Regions from separate parts of the Homo sapiens genome. Here regions 2, 3 and 4 are each linked to region 1. The links are contacts of gene promoters, found by promoter capture Hi-C in blood cells and fetal thymus (Javierre and others, 2016). All regions are on one chromosome and are shown on one strand. Each heading gives the region's core, a stretch centred on a gene start or on the middle of the fragment in contact. The rest is flanking DNA. Distances are from core to core; before and after follow the strand shown.

Evidence for each region. The method cuts DNA at HindIII sites, captures the fragments that hold promoters and counts their contacts. A CHiCAGO score of 5 or more calls a contact.
Region 2: a contact is called between a fragment that was not itself captured here and the fragment with the promoter of MMADHC in region 1, in 1 of 17 cell types (total B cells). The highest score is 7.3, in total B cells.
Region 3: a contact is called between a fragment that was not itself captured here and the fragment with the promoter of MMADHC in region 1, in 6 of 17 cell types (total CD4 T cells, total B cells, activated CD4 T cells and 3 more). The highest score is 10.4, in total CD4 T cells.
Region 4: a contact is called between a fragment that was not itself captured here and the fragment with the promoter of MMADHC in region 1, in 1 of 17 cell types (total CD4 T cells). The highest score is 8.4, in total CD4 T cells.

Annotation. Positions count from the first base shown.
Region 1 is chr2:149,586,181-149,589,689 of GRCh38, forward strand. It overlaps MMADHC (metabolism of cobalamin associated D), which reads right to left and starts at 1,595. Exons shown (of 8, transcript NM_015702.3): 1 at 1,484-1,595; 2 at 909-969. The coding sequence starts at 917. MMADHC-DT (MMADHC divergent transcript) reads left to right here and starts at 1,178. Exons shown (of 3, transcript NR_110240.1): 1 at 1,178-1,670. RefSeq lists enhancers at 806-2,005, 1,322-1,641. The HindIII fragment of the contact is 5,011 bases long and covers 1,314-3,509 here.
Region 2 is chr2:152,744,187-152,747,695 of GRCh38, forward strand. All of the region lies in intron 3 of ARL6IP6 (ARF like GTPase 6 interacting protein 6), which reads left to right. Among named protein-coding and RNA genes, the nearest start is that of ARL6IP6, 27 kb to the left of the region's middle. The HindIII fragment of the contact is 4,628 bases long and covers 1-3,509 here.
Region 3 is chr2:152,724,757-152,728,265 of GRCh38, forward strand. The region is part of intron 2 of ARL6IP6 (ARF like GTPase 6 interacting protein 6); the gene reads left to right. Among named protein-coding and RNA genes, the nearest start is that of ARL6IP6, 7.9 kb to the left of the region's middle. The HindIII fragment of the contact is 1,260 bases long and covers 1,254-2,513 here.
Region 4 is chr2:152,700,175-152,703,683 of GRCh38, forward strand. The region is part of intron 2 of PRPF40A (pre-mRNA processing factor 40A); the gene reads right to left. Among named protein-coding and RNA genes, the nearest start is that of PRPF40A, 16 kb to the right of the region's middle. RefSeq lists enhancers at 701-1,328, 815-2,014, 2,287-2,788. The HindIII fragment of the contact is 5,812 bases long and covers 1-3,509 here.

The sequences.
Region 1 (3,509 bases), core at 345-2,844:
CACAGCTCTAAGTGAATAATCACAATTTAAAGAATGAAGTCTAAATTACTGAGTTCGGCATTCAAGGCTCTCATTTACTTGGTACCAACCTCACAATTCAACCTTATCTCCCACTTATCTCTTTCATGCAGCTTACATTCAGGTTGGCAGGCAGCAGTCACTTTTCAGTTTTTCAAAGGGGTAGGCGGGTTGGGGAGTTCTTTGAATATACCTTCCTGTCCTTCCCGCTCATATTTTAGACTATACAAATCCCACCTATCTTTCAAACCTCAAGTTAAATGTTTCCCTCATGAAGTGATCCCAAACTCCTCTCCACAAAGACTTGAATCTGCATTGCACCTTCGTGTAGGTTCTAAAAAAAATTATTACTTTATACTTTAATTGTAGCTGTTTTTATATATGTCTTATGACCGCTACATATGAATTCTATAGATAGGATGTGTCTAATCACTGCAAAGTTACAGTCAATAAATATCTCTGGTGTGTGAGAGTATCTCCTATTCTTATTTTGTAGGATTTAGAAGGTCACTTCCAATATGGAAACTGTTTTAAAAAAAAGAAAAAAAGATTAAAAAAACCCTTCAGTTTAGCTAACCCAAAAGCTAAAAAAGGGCCTAAACATAGATTCTAATATTTACTGAAACGCTGTATTTAAAAAATACCGAAAGGGTGCTTGAATTTCCACATCTGTACAAATGAAATTGTATAAATAAGTGTATTTGCAGTGCAAAGAATGCTACCATCTTCAAAGCATAACATAATTTCACACCACTTGCTTCCCTTGACATTTTTGATACATTATATCTAACACTATACCACCCAATGCCATCATAATTAAACCCGTTCTTTCATTCCTAACATTCCCAAACGAGTTTACTATGCTGATTCTTAAGAGATAATTTACTCACATTGGCCATCTCCGCTGGAGAAGATAGTTCGCAAAATAGCTTTCCTTTGGTAAAGTTATTTCTGGGAAAGAACACAACAAAACAGACGAGTGATCGATTAAACTCTAACAACAGACAACTGAGGTAACGTCCACTCTTCGAAGGTGTGTCGTCCACCACGTCAGGACCAAAGTCCAAGCTCTCCCCGTACCCTAAGGAGGCCAGAACTCGCCCCCATGCCAGGCACAGATCCCCCAGCCCGGAGCCGGCAGTGCAGCTCAGAGCCCTTCCGGTTTACAGCCGCGGAAAAACAACTCGGACCAGATCCGGGAGGGGAATGGGGGCTGGGTGGCCAAAATTCAGTCCAGAGGATCGAAGCGGCTGCTTTAACAGAAGTTGGGGCTGCGTAACAACAGCTCCAAGCAAAGCTTCAGGCTGATCGGAAAGATGAGGAAGCAGAAAAGAGACTAAAGACAGACGGACAGGATGGCTGGGGACAACGACAGGGACCCAGTGAAAATACGGGCAATACCGAGGGCTGTAACCCTAACACGGGCAAATTTGGAGGGGCTAACATGGGCGGAAACCATCCGTACCAGTCACCACCACTGTCTCCAGCTGTCCCAGAACCGGACTCTTCCTGCCATCAAAATGGCGGCGGCGACGGCAGCGGTGGTAGCACCTACGCTGGCGGTGAGCAGGCAAAGGAAGTTGCTTCCGAGCGCGTCGAAACGATGATGCGCACGCGCAAAGTAGGCCTACGTGGAGCCGACCTGCCATTGGGTAAACGCAAGGGAGGAGAAAAGGTGGGGCAGGGGTGATTTGGGTGGATGGATAGGAGGGCTTCCGACCTGCGTTAGGCGGGTCAGTTAATCTTCAGTAACTCCTTGATGCGTTTGATAGTCCTCCCAACTTAAGCCTTCCTTACTGCCTCCAGGAGATACAGTCTTCTGTTCTTTTTGTCATAGTTGTTTATTTTTCATGAATCGCTGTTTTTGAGCATAGGGCACTTACCTCTTTCTGTGTCCCCAGCCCTACCACAGTGCCAGGCTCTCAATATGCTCGATAAATATTAGGCGATTGATTTGTAAATCGTGTATCATTTTCATGTATCTAATACTTTTTTAAAAATTGATTAAAGCCCATAAGCCCATATTTTATTCCAGATGTCCTTAGTTTTCGACCTGGTATTCTTTTCCATTCCAGGATCCTGTCCGGAGTACATCACCATGTCTTCCAGGCTCCTCTGGACCGTGACCGTTTCTCAAACTTTCCTTGTTTTTGATAACCTTAATAGTTTTGAAGCGACTTATTGGTCATTTGGTCAAATGTCCTTCAATTGGGTTTTGCCTGTATTTTTCTCATGCATTAACTGAGGTTATGGGTTTTTCTTGAGTTAAGAGGTAAGGTAAAGTGATCTTCTCATCACATCACATCAAGGGTATATACTATCAACATGACTTATTACTGTTGATGCTAACCTTTATCACCATTATTACAGTGTCATACAGAAAAGTTTTATAGTTCTACAAAGATCCCCTTTGTTTCATCTAGTAAGCCCTTCCACCTCCCTATGTAGGGTTTGTCAGGTTTCTCCACTGTGAAGTTACTGTTTTTCTTTTCCTCTCCATACTATACTATTTGGAAGGACATCTCTCTGTGCAGCCCAAACTATAGGAATGGGAAATTGTTATACTCCACCTTTATGAGGACAGAATATCTTCATGAATTATTTGGAATTCTTCTGCATGGGAGATTTGTCTGTACTGCATTTATTTATGTATTCAATCATTTATGTCAGTATGGACTCATGGATATTTATTTTACATTTTGGGTTATAATCCAATACTACTTTATTTTGTTGTTCATATTGGTTCCAGCTTTGGCTATTGAGATTTCCTTTAGTTGGCATTTGTGTCTTTTTGACAAACCCTCCTCGTTTTATGTTTATTGATTTTTTTTCTTGAGCATTTTCTTAATTTCTATAAGTTGCTCCAGGCTCATCTTGTATATTCCCTGCCCCAATCCTAGAATCAGCTGCTTCCCCAAAAAGCCAAGGGTACTTTTAATGGAAAATGATATTAGAAATCAAGATTTGGACATTTGGGATGTTGTTGCTTCTAGACACTCTCAGCTGACAGAGCAAGGAAATATTTGTGGATATGCTAACCTGACTAAATACGCATATCTGTAAGTATTTATATATGTATCCATCTGTATCTTTGACAGCTACACAGGCGTTCTAGGTTCAAATACTAGAGCTGTTATCTTCAGTTCAATTCCAGCACCATATGGATCATTGCAGCCTTCTCCCCTTGCTTGTCTGTAGCCTTCCACTCCAGTGTGAGACACCTGGCTCTCATCATCTGCCATCCATTTACCTAATTGTTCAATTCCAGGTTACGTGTATAATGGATTCAGAACCGTCAACCCGTATTCAGAGTACATGTATAGTTGTTTCTGAACTGTTATCAGGTATACCTGTGAGAAACAGATTTACCAATTAGAGTACAATGCTTATGTATAGTTCTTTTGCTTTTAATCTTATAGATTCCACTTATTTTCAAAGTTACTGAAGTCAGCAGCCCTCCCTCCTACCTCTACCCGGCCTCAGTGAAGTTA
Region 2 (3,509 bases), core at 717-3,216, 3.2 Mb after region 1:
AAAACCTTCAAAGTCATCTCACAGATAGTCATTTTGAATTACCAGAAGTCAAACAAAATTATTATATTTTTATCATAACTAGACTCAGTTTTAAGCTACAGTATTCTTCAGGTGTCCTTTGAATAATTACATTTGTGCATTTCCTAGGCAGATTGGAAGACACAGTTGAATGTCTATTTTATAGAAGTCAGCATGAATTTACTCTTACATTTTTAGAGAAATTTGAAGTTTGGTATCTTCTCTTTAGATATATTATTGGTTGTATTTATGGCTTATTTGATATAGGGTTCATGGCCAAAATGCAGGGAAACTTCAGTTATTAGTGTTATATCATGATTTCTAGGCATATGCCAAGGTAAAGAGTGGTGTCTTTTTTTCACAAATGCCTGCTAAAATATAATCTATGAGATTAGATTGGGAATTTGCATTATTTCACAGTTAATATACAAATCAGCGGGTATCTGCTACCTTCCTCATGCTATCAATCTTTATTGTCTGATCACTATGAATTATCCATCTTTCCATTTCTTCTTCTTCCAACCACAAATAACATTTGATAAATATCCAGACACTCAATTTTAGAAAACATGCTTTTAATTTAATTTTTATTTAATGTAACATTATTTATATGCATCCTTGTTTAAAAAAATTGTATTGCCTTACAATGCAATCTGGAATCTGCAAAATAAATTGTAAGTGAGAAAGAAAAGGGAACAAGTTAATTTTAGTTTGAATTAATTTTTGGTAAATTGTTTTTAGTAACTATTTTAGAGAGTAACATGATCTATTACTCTTTTACATGTGTTACTTCCTATGTAAAGCGTTCTGTATGTAATTAGATGCTAACATTTGTGTGTGAGAGTGTGTTGTTAACTGTAGTAGGGAGCAGCAGATAGTAAAATACTTTGACATGTGAATTTCCTGGAACATTCAGGATTCAGTATTGGCATCCTGTATTATAATGTTACTTTTCTATTCAACATTAGTTTGGGTCTTTAAAATATTGTTATTAGGGTTTTTCTCTGACGTCTTCACATTGAGGGTTAGGAAGATAGAGAACAAATAAAACAGTTGAATCATAATATGCAATTCAAGAAAAGGGAACAAGTTGATTTTTGTTTGAATTGCTTGAAATTTGAAATTTCCAGCAGCACTCAGTTTTCTTTAATACAGTTAGCCTATCCTCATAACTAAATACAAGCACTGATTTTCCCTCCTTGGAAATAAGTATATGTGGACATCTTTAGCATAAAATAATATACGAGTGTTACAGGTTCTTAACTTGGGCATATATATAAGCCTTGGAGGTCAAAAACAGTGGGTTAGTTAGTATTCAAATTAGAAATTTCTTTTCCATGCAGACTAGATTTAACATTGAGCACAGTGAATTGACTCTACTACTCTTTGATACAGATTTTGGAGAGCTGCCTCTTTGTCGAATCAGATTCTTTATTGCCATGAACTAATGAAACAGATGTCAGATGGCTAATTGCAGTAGGAGAGAAAAGCTACTGACAAAAGAGATGGTTCAGGAACTTGGCCTTGATATTTGAGTATCATGAAATCTCATTATCTGGGGACTATTCAGAGCCATCAATTACAGTGCTGTCACTATTAATGAATATATTGATGGCATTGCACCGCGGCTTCTTGAAGTAAAGGGTTAAAGTACATGCATATTGTGTAAGATATATTTCATTACTGTTCTGAATGGAGATATGCATAGATATAACAAAATCCTCTAGGAAATTGTATTAACTATTGGTTTTATTGTTTCCATAAAGTGATACAGCTAATGAGTGCTTGCTTTGTACCTTTTTTTTTTTTTTTTTTTTTTTTTTTTTTTTTAAAGACAGGTTCTCACTTTGTTGCCCAGGCTAGATAGCAGTGGCATGATCTTGGGTGACTGCAACCTTTGCCTTCTGGGCTGAAGCGATCCTCCCACCTCAGACTGCTGAGTAGCTGGGACCACAGACATGCGCCACCACATCTGGCTAATCTGGCTAATTTTTGTATTTTTTATAGAGACGGGGTTTTGCCATGTTGCCCTAGCTGGTCTCGAACTCCTGGGTTCAAGTGATCCACCTGCCTCGGCCTCCCAAAGTGCTGGGATTACAGGCATGAGCCACCTTGCCCAGCTGCTCTTGCTTGTGCTATTTACAGTGTTATATATGAGTAGCTGAAGAGGGACAAGTGTCCATATGCCCAGAGCAATACTGACAAGAAATACTTGAGAGACAGTGCTTGCCAATTTTGTACTTGGAACCCTTTTTGTTTGTTTAACAACCTATAAATTACCAGAGGCAGCCTGATATAATTAAAAAGGGTCTTGAAGTCAGGAGAGGTAGCTTCCAAATCCAACCTACCCTAGCAGAAGGACATTTGAGCAAGTCAGTTAGTATATCCAAGCTATAACTTCCTCATCTCTAAAATGGAGTAAAAATAATGGTACCCTCATAGGCAGTAAGTGTAAGTTTACTAAAGCAACAGATACGTCAGATGATAAAGCAGACATAGTGTCAGAGGTTTTCTTTTCTTAAGGTTTTTTGAGCTGGAAGTCTGACCATGGCCTGCCACAAGTTGCCAGTTATCTTTTCTTGGATAATTGTTATTTATCCTGAGATTTTATCCTTTCTTTTTTTTTTTTTTTTTTTTTTTTGAGGTCTTGCTTTGTTGCCCCAGGCCGAAGTGCAGAGTGGCACAATCATGGCTCACTGCAGCCTCAACTGCCTGGGCTCAAACAACCCTCCTGCCTCCGCCTCCCAAATTGCTGGGACTACAGGCGAGTGCTGCTATGCCTGGCTAAATTTTTTATTTTTATTTTGTAGAGATAGGGTCTCACTAAGTTGCCCAGGACAGTCTTGAACTCCTGAGCTCAAGCAATCCTCCTGGCCTAGTCTCCCAAGGCACTGGGATTACAGGCGTGAGCCACCACGCCCAGCCAACAACTAATTGTTAATATTATCTCATTTAGTTTTAATAAGAACACTAATGAAAGGAATTATTATCCTCATTTTAAAGATTGAGAATTAGATTTTCTGGTAGGTTAAAATAGTTCTGTGACTAGTACAGCCATGACTAAACTCCAGTGAGGAGAGAGCTAGCTTTCCAGGTCTTTCATTCTGATCATATTAAACAATTGAGCTTCCTATTCTCTCCATTGTCTCTTGCTTCTGCGCATACTGTTAGGTGTTTAGAACACTAAATCCCTCATACTCAATTTTAGTTCAGGTATTAGCTCTTCTTTGGAATTTTTTCTCCCCTTCTACAAGCTGAATGGCTCCTTTATGTTCCAGTAATACTGCCTGCAAAACAATCTACTACGTCACAAGATTCTGTTATCTTCGAAGGCAGTACTGACTCCTTACTCATTTCTCTCTCTTTTTTTTTTTCCTTTTTTTGTTGGTTTGAGATAGTCTCACTCTGTCACCCAGGCTGGAGTGCAGTGGCATGATCTTGGCTCACTGCAACCTCCACCCGCTGGGTTCAAGCAATTCTCCTGCCTCAGC
Region 3 (3,509 bases), core at 634-3,133, 3.1 Mb after region 1:
GAATATCTGACTCAGTAGTGTGAGATGGAGCCCAAGAATTTTCATTTTTGACAAGTTTTGAGTTGATGCTCTGCATGCTGCTAGTTAGGGGGCTATATATACTTTGAACACCACTGGCCTAGTAGTTCCCAAACCTGACATAAAAAAAAAAGCAAAAAAACGAAGACCCTGGAGATTTTCTTTTTTTGCTTTTACGGAATCTTAGACCCTATAATTATCTACTGAATCGAAGTAACTTAATTGGCTGTATGTGTCAGTGTACACTGTACAATCAGGGCTCATTGGACCATTTTTCATTTCTGAATTATTTCGAGCAGTTCTGTTTGTAAGGATTGAAATTTCATGACTTATTCTTTCTTAGGGATCTTCAAAAGAATAAAGAAAACTGAGCTATATTTCTCATAAAGTTTATTTGATCTTGAAATTACCACATTGGTCTATTGGACATTTTTTAATTTTGAAATACGTTTTGGGATTTTAGTGGTCACATATTGTTCTTTCTCAAAACATTCTCCTATTTCATTATTTTAGTATTACTCATCAATTCTCAACTATGGTCGAAAGAATAAAATAATTATGATGGAATTAGGATTCCAGTAAGACTTTCCTAAGACTTTAAGTATTTTTTTCATCTTTTATGAGGTCTGCATCCTAATTTATTTGATACTGTTTGTAAGTGGACAGATGCTAAGGGCAGATGTGTATACAAAGGTGATTTGGAAAAAAAAATGCAAAAAAGAATTATTGGGTTGACCATTTGAATTGTTTGTAATCTAAAAATGAAAATATGTTACAAATTATGGAGCAAAGAAGATTGTTGTCCTCTTTTCGTCAAAATAAGCCATGAAAGGCTTAAAAATTCCTTCAAACATTGTGTTTTAATGACGCAAGTGCAAAAAAAAAAAGCAGGAATAATGACAAGCTGTAACCAATTTGAGATGTATCTGAAATCTGGAAGTGGTATTTACAAGATGGATATGTTGTAGATTCATACATGAAGTTAGTAAGCAATTATTTGCACTCAGGTCGTGCCCATTTTTGGTGTACATGACTTTAGGGAAACTGGGAATTGAAATTCGGATTTGCTGTATTTATTTCTTATGAAAATTTTTAACAAAGTTTTTTTCCTGCTGTCTTTTTGCTCTCTAAATTATTCTTCAAGTGTCATGAAAATAAAGGAAATAAAAAAGCCTCTTTGGACTTATATGATAAAAATATTGATGACTGTTTTCCCTGTTATACTGAAGATTACAAGCTTCAGAGGAGAATATAAATTTAACAGGATTGCCCATGAATTAATTGTTTAAAGCTGGATGATGGGTATATGAGTTTTATATACTTCTCTCAACTTTTTCCTGTGTTTGAAATGATCTGTAATAAAAGTGTTGGGTTTTTTTTTTAATTTTCCCATGTGAATCTAATGATTTACCAATGTTGGGAACTACAGGTGTTATTTATTTTTGAAATTTCAGTCACTTAATCTGTCAGAGGATCACCTTCCTCATCTGTTTCAACAGAAAGATGTAGAAATGCTACAGTCTGGGTTGCAGGTGGTCGGGCGATTGGGTGAAGGCCTTAACCAGTGTAACTGCTATAGCTACCATGCACTCTGCACCCACTATGCTCATGTTGCATTGGCAGGAGAGGAGAGAGCACTTTCCTCTGCTCCTGCACTTGGCTTTGACGTGTAAAGAGACACTTTGCTCTAGGGATTTAAAGACTTGAGCTATCTATAGAATGTGATTTAGAGAGGATACCAAATTATTTAAAATAATGGTCATCCTCTCAAGTTAGAAAACTATAGAATCTAATAAAGTTGAGAACATTTGCTTACATAAACATTTAAAAATTGATGGTTAGTTTCATGCATATGATACATCTAAGTTTTATTAGTAGCCAGCTGGTAATAGTTTTTACAACTTTTAAAGTTAGCTAAGTACAGCCATACACCACATACCATTTTGGTCAACAGTGGTCTGCATATATGCCTGTATGATGGTGGTCCCATAAGATTACAGTGGAGCTGAAAAATTCCTATTTAGTGGCATTGCAACTGTCCTAACTTGGTAGTACAATATATTGCTCACATGTTGGTGTTGATGCTGGTATAAACCAACCTATTACCAATCTAGTTTTATATAACCTTCCAGTCATAAAAAAAAATACAGCACAATTACGTGCAGTACATAACATAATTCTTGATAAACAATTATGTTACTGGTTTATGTATTTACTATGCTTCTTATTGTTTTAGATTATATTACTTCTGCTTAAAAAAAGTTGACTGTAAAACAGCCTCAGGCAGGTCCTTCAGGAGGTATCCCAGAAGAAGGCATTGTTGTCATAGGAGATGACAGTTTCATGCATGTTGTTGCCCTTGAAGACCTTTCAGTGGAAAAAGATGTGACAGTGAAAAACAGTGATATTACCTTGACCCTATGTAGGCCTAGGCTAATGTGTGTGTGTCTTAGATTTCAACAAAGAAGTTTAAAAACTAAAAAATTAGAAATAGAAGCTTATAGAGTAATGGTATAAAGAAAAAACATTTTTGCACAGCTGTACAGTGTCCTTTTGTTTTAAACTGTTAGTAGAAAAGGGTAAAGTTAAATTTTAAAATTTATAAAGTAAGAAAGTTACAGTAAGCTAAGGTTAATTTATTAATGAAGAGAAAAATTTTTTAATTTAGCGTAACCTAAGTGTACAGTGTTTATAATAGTCTATTGTAGTGGACAGTAGTGTCCTTGGCCTTCACCTTCACTCATCAGTCACTCGCTCACTGATTGACCCAGAGCAACTCTTTGTCCTGTAAGCTCCATTCATTGTAAGTACCCTATACAGGTGTACCATATTTTATCTTTTACACTGTATTTTTACTGTACCTTTTCTATATTTAAGTATGTTCAGATACACAAGTACTTATTGTTGTATTACAGTCGCGTGCAGTATTTGGTATAGTAACATGCCGCACAGGTCTGTAGCATTGGAATAATAGGATATAACTGTATAGCTCATAGGTGTGTAGTAGGCTATATACCTAGGTTTTTGTAAGTACGCTCTTGTGATGTACAAACAACAACGAAATCACCTAATGATGCATTTCTCAGAACATATCCCTGTCATCAGTGTATGATTGTATTGTATTTTCATTGTTAGTATCATAAAATGCATTAGTTACGTAAGTAATTTAATCTCACCAGGAAAGATTCCAACAATTAAAGCAAAGGCTTTCACCGATCTACCTGTGTGTCTTTTTACATCTTTTTCTCTTTGTTTACATATGTATAGTCATTTAAAATACATGTTTTTTTCACTGTTATAGGAAAAATATAATTGGAATCATGTATATTTTGCAGCCTTGTTAAAGTGCCTTTTGGAGTATATTCTGTATTAGTATACATAGGTCTACCTCATTTTTTCATGACTGCATTGTATTTCATAATATAAGTATACCAGTTTATTTAAACATTTCAAATGTCAGAATCTCTTACCCAGGACTTGGAAATTACTAG
Region 4 (3,509 bases), core at 724-3,223, 3.1 Mb after region 1:
TATATAAGCATGGTGACAGTTATAATTCTTGACACAAATTATGTGACACAATTTAGAAATAGAGCTAAATGACAATGAACTGTATCACTTTATATTTTAAAAAGCTCTAATCGTAACTGGGGATACACAAAAATTGTATTGCCTCAAGCCATATAGAATGACTTTAAAACTTACTCTAAAAAGTCATCAAAGCCTTCTTTTAGACAAAAGTGTACAAGGACACAAGACCATTATTATCCCCTTCCCCAGGTCTCTCAAATTAGATTCAGTAGCATATCAAGCTAAATCTTTATACTTTATTTCAGTATAAGGGTCTAATTTTCTATACCTAAGAAATATATGATCACAAATACACGATGACTTAGAGATTACTGAAAAATCATCTTTCGAAGAAGTAACAACTTTCTTGATTCCGCATGGCCAAATGGGTGTTTGCAAACAAGAACTTAATGCTCATTCATTTATCAAAAGCTAGTTTTAAAAGTCTTAGCCTAAATTTAAGATTAAGACCTAATGACAAGGATCCCATTCACAATGTAATGTGAATTTTGTTTAAAAAGATCAAAGTTGGCCAGGCGCGGTGGCTCACGCCTGTAATCCCAGCACTTCGGGAGGCCAAGGTGGGTGGATCACGAGAAATCGAGACCATCCTGGCCAACATGGTGAAACCCCGTCTCTACCAAAATACAAAAAATCAGCCAGGCATGGTGATGCGCACCTGTAGTCCCAGCTACTTGGGAGGCTGAGGCAAAGGAATTGCTTGAACTCGGGAGGTGGAGGTTGCAATGAGCTGAGATTGCGCCACTGCGCTCCAGCCTGGCGACAAAGCAAGAGTCCGTCTCAAAAAAAATAAATAAATAAAAAATAAAAATCAAAGTCTAAGATAAATGTAAGATTTTCGTTAAAATAAAAACAAAAACCAAAGCCTAAGACAGAGCAAACTGAATTTCAACTCAAGACAGTGTTCACTAGTTCTTCATGACTAACAGAATCATTCAGACTGGGAGAAGATTCAGATTCCCACTTTGAGTACACTGAGCAAGAAAGCAGCAGAAGTGGCTTTCCTTTTAAATCCACCAATGCAAAATATCATGACAGAGATGATAAATTCCTCTTCAAAAGGTTTTAATTCCCAGTTCTTCCACTTCGTTTTTCTGGTTTCTGTAGTTATCCATGCTATAACTAACCCTTCCTGCCCTTGCCGCGCCCTGACATGCCTAGACATGTCTTACGCCATAACGCATAGCCTTCCCCTTCCCGCCTAGATATCTGTGTTCAATTACAAACAGCAGCCAATCGAGTCAGTTTAGATTGTGCAGTCCAACCCTAGCCAATAGGGGAAAGACACAACAGTAGGGACCAGCTGTTAGGAATAAGAACCCCTTTCCCTCCCTTGTCCAGTGTGCTCTTGCCATTGCTCCATCCGCGAGACACACCCTTCTACAGAAGTAAATTGCCTTGATGAGAAAACTTTTGCCTGAGTATATTTTCACTTTGTGACACCAAGCATTTACTTCCAACAATTTGGGGGCCCACCCAGGATTCCCATTCTCCTCCGGGGAACCGGTCTCTGGTCACTTCTTGTGGGGAGGCGCATCCCATCGCCTTGTTGCAGTGGCCTCAGTGTGAGAGATTGGAACCCATCCAGTGCAACAAATAAACCCAGACTCTCGGCAACAAGAAAAGATACAGGCCAGCAGCTTGGCAAAAGGATTCTCACATGCTGCAGCAACCAGGTAACTCTGCACAGACCAAGGTAAGAAATGTTGCAGGGGTGACAAAGTATTTCCTTGGTGGTTGGGATATTCTGGAGGATGAAAGTGTGTGTGAATGATCACAAGCACTACTGCTTGCGGTGCTGCTTGTGTGAATGGTACCAAGCACTACTGCTGTGCAGAGTGAGTGGGTCCTATCTGCAGTTCTGTGGTCACTTCATACAGCTTAGGGCGGATCCTGCTGTGGGTTTCATACCGGCATGCCAATGCCAAGAGGGGCCTAAATTCCCACGAGGGAAGTAGCCAGAGTGGACAAAGCAAAAGAAGGATGCAAGGATCCTCCAGGAGGCGGGGTTAAAGGATAGGCAAGAAATCTCTAATACAAGGGACTGAGCCTTAACAAGCCTCCAGAGAATAGGCAAGAAGTCTCTAATACTAGGACCTGACATGGGAAATACCCTAAGCAAGACAAGGAGTAAAAAGGATAAAGGTAGCAGTAAAGATATTGCCCCGATAGTCCCCTAGGTCTCATGTTAAAAGACTGGAAAGATAATGAGAAGACTAAACATAAGCAGCAGCAATTACTGTTTTATTTGGACTCAGGGACCCATCCTCAAACCCTCAATCTTCTGGCCAAAGTTTAGGTCAAATGAGAGTGCGATGTGTCAGCTTTTGATTCAATATGTCAATGATAAAAGCCCAGCTTCTTAAGAGGAAATGGACTATGCTCTTTGTTGGAGGCAGGGACCTGTCCTCCTTTTTCCCTTTGAGACAACTAGGAAAGAACCTGATCTAGCATCACAAAAGGAAAAATTAGGTAAGTTAGTTCCAATGCTCAAAGACTCCAGCACATGGGATCCCCTAGACCATCTTCCCCCACTCAGTGACCCCAACCCCTCTCCTCAGGCAGCCGCTGCTGCCCCAGATCCCACTCTAGATCCTTCACCTACTCATGTTACTCCTCCTCCTTACAATCCTGACTTTTAGAAATTATCATCCCAGGAGCCTGTCCCCTATCAGCCTAAGGACCCCTCCCTAAAGGGACTCCAGTGTGAAATAGAGCAATGTAAAAAGGATATCCAGAACTTCCCTTTCCCCTCTACAACTCAAGAGTCAGCCCCTGCTCTCTTTCCCTTAAGAGAAATGCCATAAAGAGGGGGAACCATTGGCTCCGTGAATGCTCCCTTAATCAGTTCAGAGGTCCAGAATTTAAAGAAAGAGCTTAAGCCACTGCAAGATGACCCTTATGGAGTGACAGATCAAACTGATCAATTTTTAGGACCTCAGTTATACACTTGGGTAGAGTTAATGTCCATCTTGGACATCCTCTTTTCAGGAAAAGAAGGGAGTGTGATTCGTAGGGCTGCTATGGTAATTTGGGAACGTGAGTGTCCTCCCAGTCAAAAAGTTCCTACTGTGAACCAGAAATTCCCCGCCCGAGACCCCCAGTTGGACAATAAAAACATGCAGGACCTAAGGGAGATGATAATAAAAGGAATTCAGGAATCAGTACCCCAAACCCCAAATCTCTCTAAAGCATTTGATATATAACAAAAAAAAAGGATGAAGGGCCTATGAGATTCCTAAATAGACTGAAAGAGCAAATGAGACAATATGCAGGCCTCAATTTAGAAGATCCCCTTGGGCAAGGAATATTAAAACTCCAATTTGTCACTAGAAGATGGCCAGACATCTCAAAAAAAATTACAAAAGTAGAAAATTGGGAAGACCATCTCCTAAGTGAACTTCTCAGGGAAGCTCAAAAAGTATATGTGAGAAGACATGAAGAAAAGC